Linked DNA regions of Homo sapiens: region 1 is linked to region 2. The links are contacts of gene promoters, found by promoter capture Hi-C in blood cells and fetal thymus (Javierre and others, 2016). All regions are on one chromosome and are shown on one strand. The core of a region is centred on a gene start or on the middle of the fragment in contact, and the rest is flanking DNA. Distances in the headings are between cores, read along the strand shown.

Region 1 (3,230 bases), core at 408-2,907, 590 kb before region 2:
TGCCTGTTTTTGCTTTTGTTGCGTGTGCTTTTTTGGTCTTATTCAAAAAATCCTTGCCCAGACCAATGTCATGAAGGGGTTCCCCAATTTTCTTCCAGTAGTTTCACAGTTTCGGGCCTTACATTGGTTTTTAATCCGTCTCTATTTGATTTTTGGACATGGTGAGAGATAGGGAGTCTGGTTTCATTTTTCTGCATATGAATATCCAGTTTTCTCAGCACCCTTTATTGGATAGATTGGCCTTTGCCCAATGTGTGTTCTTGATGCCTTTGTTGGAAATCAGTTGGCTGTAAGAGCATAGATTTATTCTTGGTCTCTCTATTCTGTTCTGTTGTTTTGTGTGTCTGTTTTTCTGCGAGTAAGTACCATGCTGTTTTGATTGCTATTGCTTTGTAGTGCATTTTACGTTTGTAGTATAGTCAGATAGTGTGATGCTTCCAGCCTTATTCCCCTTTTATTTTAAACAGGTGGGGTCTCACTCTTGCTCAGGTTGGAGCACAGTGGCACAATCATAAGTCACTGAAAAACTCCTGGGCTCAGGTGATCCTCCTACCTCAGTCTCCTGAGTAGCTGGGACTACAGGCATGTGCCACCACTCCTGGCTAATTTATTTTTTATTTTTTTTTAGAGATGGGGGTCTTAATGTTGCCTAGGCTGACCTCAAACTCCTAGCCTCAAGTGATCCTCCCTAAATGCTGAGATTACAGTCATGAGTTACCACACTTAATGAATTATAGTAAGTCCATGTGATAGAGTAACTATTAACACAGTGAAAAAGAATGAGATGACTTTCATAAAATGGTAAGGATGAAATCCAAGATAGATTGTAACTTAAAAAAGCAGAATCATTCCTAAAATTGAAACTACTTCTAAATATGTGCAACTACTATGTATCCATAATAATTAAAAATAAATTTAGGATTAAATAAAAAATTTAAACAAGCAAAAGTCAAAAAGAAAAACTAGTACTAGATCACTAATCAAATATTTTAAAATAAAATTGAACCTATACAAGTATCAAAAGAAAATCTGGGAGCATATTTTTATAATCTTGAAGTGTGCACAATCTAAGTATGGTTCAAGCCCTGAAGTCATAAAAGAAAAAACTGATAAGCTCAGATCATACATTTCTACTATGGTAGCAAAAACCACCATAAAAAAGTAAAAGCATGAATGACAGAGTGAGAAAATATTTGCAACATCATGAACAAATGGTTCCTTTAATGAGTAAAAGCTCCTACCAATCAGTAAGGAAAAGATCAACAAGCTGGGTGTTGTGGCACATACTTGTAGTCCAAGCTACTGGGGAGGCCAAGATGGGAGGATTGCTTGAGGCCAAGTGCTAGAGGCCACAGTGTCCTATGACTGCACTTGTGAATAGCCACTGCACTCCAGTCTGAGCAACATAGCAAGACCCCATCTCTTTAAAAAAACCAACAAGATATAGAACACTATGTGTAGTATGTGGCTATTTGCATTAAAATATAAGCTTTTATATCCCTAGAAATATCTGGAAAGATAACCCATGAGACAGGTACCAGCTTAACATGAGAAGGGAACTGTGGGCCAAGAGTCAGGCTGGGAGGGAGCTTAGATTTTCAATCAATACTAGTTTTACACTGTTTTAATTCTTTATGGTGTGCATGCATTAACTTCAAACTCTTCAAAAAAATTCATTGACAGGGAGGCAAGTCTCTAGGCACAGACCAAGCACCCACATTCCCATCTCTTCAGTGACCCATGTATCTTTGGATCTGCCCTGCTGCTTCTGCATTTCTCTCCCTAATTAAATACTTTCTTTTCTTCAAGGCTCATTCAAGCTTCTGACTCCTTCTCTCAAGCCCATAGAGGTGGCCTCTCCCTGCTGTCAACATGTAACTTGTGGAATGTTCCTTCCCTCCCTCCCTCCCTCCTTCCCTCCCTTCCTTCCTTCCTTCTTTCCCTTTCTTTTTCTTTCTGTTTTTTCCTTTTCTTTCTTCCTGCTTCCTGCCTTTTTTCCTTTTTCTTCCTTCCTTTCTTCTTTTCTATTTATGCTGCTCTGTGCGTTTGTTGCTTGTCTACATCTACCATGAGAATTGTGTTGTACTTCTTTCTATCACCAAGAATGCCATCTGCCTTTGGTAAAGAGTCATTCCTGTCTTCCCTGACCTCCCAGAACACTCATGGTCACACCACACAATGCATTCTGTAATTATACCCTGGCAAATTTCCCATCAAAGCACTAGGAGTCTCACCCCAGCTACACCGGGAGCTCCTAGAAGGTAGGGGCCTGGATTTTGCTCATCTCTGTGGTGGCTCAGTGCTGAGAGCAGAGTGGGAACCCCAGAGAGATATCTTGAGTTCCCAGGTGATGGATGGAAGGTCACTCAACACAGAAAAACATCACTACTGCTTTTATTGGTCACCCAGTGGATACTAACACTTGGTCCTGGAGGTCTAGTTGCTTTCTATGCCACAAGACCATGGTCCTCTCCCACTGTGGAAATAACACACAGGCAGAGGGAGTGGCCTGTAGCTGGTCGTGTGCCCAGGAGTTCAGAACCCCGCACCTTCTTCCATCATTGCAGCCCCAGTTCCTCAGCTTCATCCTACCAGCCCCCTGGAAAATGTAAAAATGTAGGCAGGTCTCTTCTTTCTTACCGCACTTTAATCCCACCCCTACCTTAACCATGAATATGTGTACACTGAGGCTTAAATTTTCCTTTGTGAACTTCTCAAGTTCAGGGAAACTTTCACTATATATTTATGAATAGTTATGTGTTGAACCCTGGCAGCACTCTGAGTTCAAAGATAGACAAACAGTGTGCAGATGCTGCTCTTAAAGAGCTTACAGTCTTTTGGAGAAAACAGTCACATGAACAAAATTAATGCAATGTTGTTAGCAGTGATCGATCGGGAGCTGACCAGGGTGCTAGGAGAACAGAGGGTGGGGGAATTGCACTGGTTTTGTGGGTGGGGGGATGAGGGACTTTCTGGAGGAGATGGTTCTCTGGCTCAGGTTTAAAGGTGAATGAGAGCCTGGGGCTCCCAGTCCAGCTCACACAGCTAGTCTTTTTCAGCCTGGATACTCTGCTCTCTCCCTTTTCTCAGCCTAGCTGTCCAAGGTCGGAGAAAGGAGACCGGTTTCATCAAAGGTGCAAAAGGAATGAGTTTAGATCCTGGTAAAATAGATGTGCAGAGTGTAAGACCCTGAAGGGAGAGGTAGCAGTTCAGCGTGCAGGTTTGGAGAG
Region 2 (3,253 bases), core at 379-2,878:
CGACCCCATTCCATGGGAGCTATTTTGACAATACACACATACCTAAGACTGAGTTCCTTTGCATGCACATCATACTTCTATATTATCTCCACCTTGTGCTCTCTAATTTGCCTTGCTATGTTATCCCTATTTCAATTAAGATGCTTTCCCTCTCATCATATGCAAGTACGTCTGGTCTGTTATTCCTTATCTAACAGTTTTTATTCTATGTTCACTTCCTGCTACTCTTTCATTTTCTTGCATGTGTGTGATTTTTGTTTTTGCATAGAATGGCTCATCTTCTATTTCTCTTAAATTCAAACATATATTATGTGTGGGTGCAAGCAATCTGCCTATTTCATTTATGTCTTCTGGTAAGTCTTGCCTGAACATTTATATATTGAAAGACATCATGTTTTATTATAATTTATCTTTTTGTTTCTTTTTAAAAAATTATGTTAGCTTTCCTTGGTTTTGTTGTTGTTGTTTGGTTTGTTTTTTTTTGAGACAGGATCTCGCTCTGCTACCCAGGCTGGAGTGCATGGCTTGATCACAGCTCATCGCAGCCTCGACCTTCTGGGCTCAAGCAATCCTCCTACCTTAGCCTCCCCAGTAGCTGGGACTACAGGCAGGTACCACCACATCCGGCTAATTTTTTATTTTTATTATTGTAGAGACAAGGTCTCACTATGTTGCTCAGGCTGGTCTCAAACTCCTGGGCTCAAGCAATCCTCCTGCCTTGGCCTCCCAAAATGCTGGGATTACAGACATAATGCATTTTGTATGCCAGGCCTATTTGCATTTTTAAATGATGTATATAGGTAGTCTTTGAAATTCATTTCTTCATTTCTGGACACAGAAGACATTGCAAAGTGGATGTTGGCTCTCCTGGCATCAATGCCACGTCAGAACCACTGCTCTGCGATGGGAAAAAAGGATGTTAGGAACTAACTGCCTCTCTTTTTGCAGGCCCAAAGGACGAATCCATGTCTACACAGCTGGTGGGTAGACTAGAACCAGGCCTCCTAAATTGTGCAGTCCTGCCCCAACCCCAAATTCAGGGCTTTGTCTTCCATAGCTCAACATCACAGTCAGTCCAAAGCTTGGACGCCGCTTGGGGAAAGGAGGTCGAAGACCTTCACGTCTAACTTCCCCCATGGCGCTTTTGCCATTGATTTAACCCGATCTGGCTCTGCCATTAGGTCAACAACAGGCTTTGTGCTCAGTCGCTCATCGCCTCCCAGCGCCTAGCATGTGCAATAGCAGAGAGCAAAAAGCTTGACTTTCAAGATGAATTTAGTACATTCCCAAAGGGATGCGCAGATGCCAACTCTTCCCACACTATCAAACCAAGCAAGAAACTTGAGCACCCCCTAGATTCCAATGCTTCCACATACAATCTAAGTTTCGCGGAGCAGACGAGAGCCGCAGAACACCGCGAGGTGCGAGGAAAGGGTCAGGTGGGCGGTGCCTTCCCCGGGCAGGCGCGGCAGGTGGAGGGGCGGGGCATTGCCCTACCGGAAAACGGGAGGAGGGAGCTGGCGAGTAGAAGCACCTGCGTGGTGTGCGGGGGTGGAGCGGGGGCTGGAGGGAGAGTTAATGATTTGCCACAGGCTCATTTCGCAACTTAACCAAGGGTCAGCTTCCCGTGACCATGTACCAGCTGCGTCCTCTGGGCCACGCTCCACTTGCCCGCTTCCACCCGGAAAGCCCCCCAGGCTGAGTGCGGCATGATCTCCATCACCGAATGGCAGAGTAAGTGGGATGAGCGGGGCTGCAATGGGCTATCCAGGCCAGGCTCCCTGCCGGCTGGCTCTCTCTCCCAGCTGGGCTCTCTGTCACTACAAGCGTGACCTCTGGAGCCAGGGGCTGGGAGATGCTGTGCTGGCACCCTGGGGCAGCAGGCAGGGTGGGGTGTGGCTCCCTACCCTCCAGCGGGTGGGAGTTGCTCAGGGCCCACAGGTAGCTAGAGGCTGGTGCCCAGGGGGCCTGGCAGGTTCCCCATTCACACTGACCCCTTTCCCATCCCGGGTTCTTAGAACTGGGTTGCCACAAAGGTGGACTCAGGAGGCCTCTGCCCATTCAGACATCTTTCCCCACACCATCAAGGTCTCCTGTGGCCCTGGGGGCTTCTTATAAAAAACTAAACTCCACTCCCCTGACCAAACCACCATACCCTCACTCCTAAACATCCTTCCCCTTCTTTTGGGGGAAGAGGTAGGGAGGAGGTCTTGGAACAAGTCTGGGGCCATGGGAAGAACCGTGGCTCTGTGGGCTTCATTTGGGTGAGTTACTTAAAGCCTCTGAGCCTTGGTTTTTCATCTGAGAATTGGTGACAACATTCTTTTGTTCACTCAACAGATTTGTCTCTGCTGTGTGCCAAGCACTGTGTTGGATATAGAGTGTCCAACATTAAATGAAACTGACTCCCTGCTTACATTCTAGAGAGGGGAGACAGGTAATTAACAGAAAGAAGTATATAGTATATCAGAAGATGATAAGTCCTCCAGATGAAAATAAAACAAGAGGAGGCTATGGAGTTCGAGGTAGGAGGGGTCGCTATTTTATATAGAGTGGTCAGGGAAGCCTCACTGAGAAGGTGAGCCTTTATTCAGATCTTTTTTCAGAGATCTATAGGAAGTGAGGAAGCAAAGCCACGCAGCTCTCTGGAGGGGAAATGTTCAGGAAGCAGGGACAGGCAGTGCAAAGGCCCTGAGGCATTAGCATACTTGGTGTGTTTGAAGAACAACAAGGAGGTGGGTATACCTGGAGCAAAGTGAGGTGAGGGGAGAATCATAGGAGTTTAGGTCAGGGATGTCACTGAGGGGTCAGGACACTGGAGACTTATAGACCATGGTAATGACCTTGGTTTTGTGCTATGGTGTGATATGTTCTATTTCTATGTTTAAAAGATCATTCTGGGTGCTGGGTTGAGAATAGACTGTGGAGGTATGAAGGCAGCAGCAGGGAAGCCAGTTCTTTTTTTTTTTTTTTTTTTTTGAGACAGAGTCTCACTCTGTCGCTCAGGTTGGAGTACAGTGGCATGATCTCTGCTCACTGCAACCTCCACCTCCTGGGTTCAAGCGATTCTCCTGCCTCAGCCTCCTAAGTAGCTGGGGTTACGGGCACCCACCACCACACCTGGCTAATTTTTGTATTTTTAGTAGAGATGGGGTTTCTCCACGTTTACCAGGTTGGTCTCGAACTCCTGACTTCTCAAGTGATCCACCTGCCTGAGCCTCCCAAAGTGCTGGGATTACAGGCGTGAGCCACC

Evidence for each region. Contacts are between HindIII fragments. The CHiCAGO score rates a contact against its expected background, and 5 or more counts as called.
Region 1: a contact is called between a fragment that was not itself captured here and the fragment with the promoter of GOLT1A in region 2, in 1 of 17 cell types (M2 macrophages). The highest score is 5.6, in M2 macrophages.

The regions. Positions count from the first base shown.
Region 1 is chr1:204,803,486-204,806,715 of GRCh38, reverse strand. No RefSeq gene overlaps it. Among named protein-coding and RNA genes, the nearest start is that of NFASC, 24 kb to the left of the region's middle. The HindIII fragment of the contact is 331 bases long and covers 1,492-1,822 here.
Region 2 is chr1:204,212,363-204,215,615 of GRCh38, reverse strand. It overlaps GOLT1A (golgi transport 1A), which reads left to right and starts at 1,628. Exons shown (of 5, transcript NM_198447.2): 1 at 1,628-1,734. The coding sequence starts at 1,710. RefSeq lists an enhancer at 1,101-1,757. The HindIII fragment of the contact is 7,307 bases long and covers 1,259-3,253 here.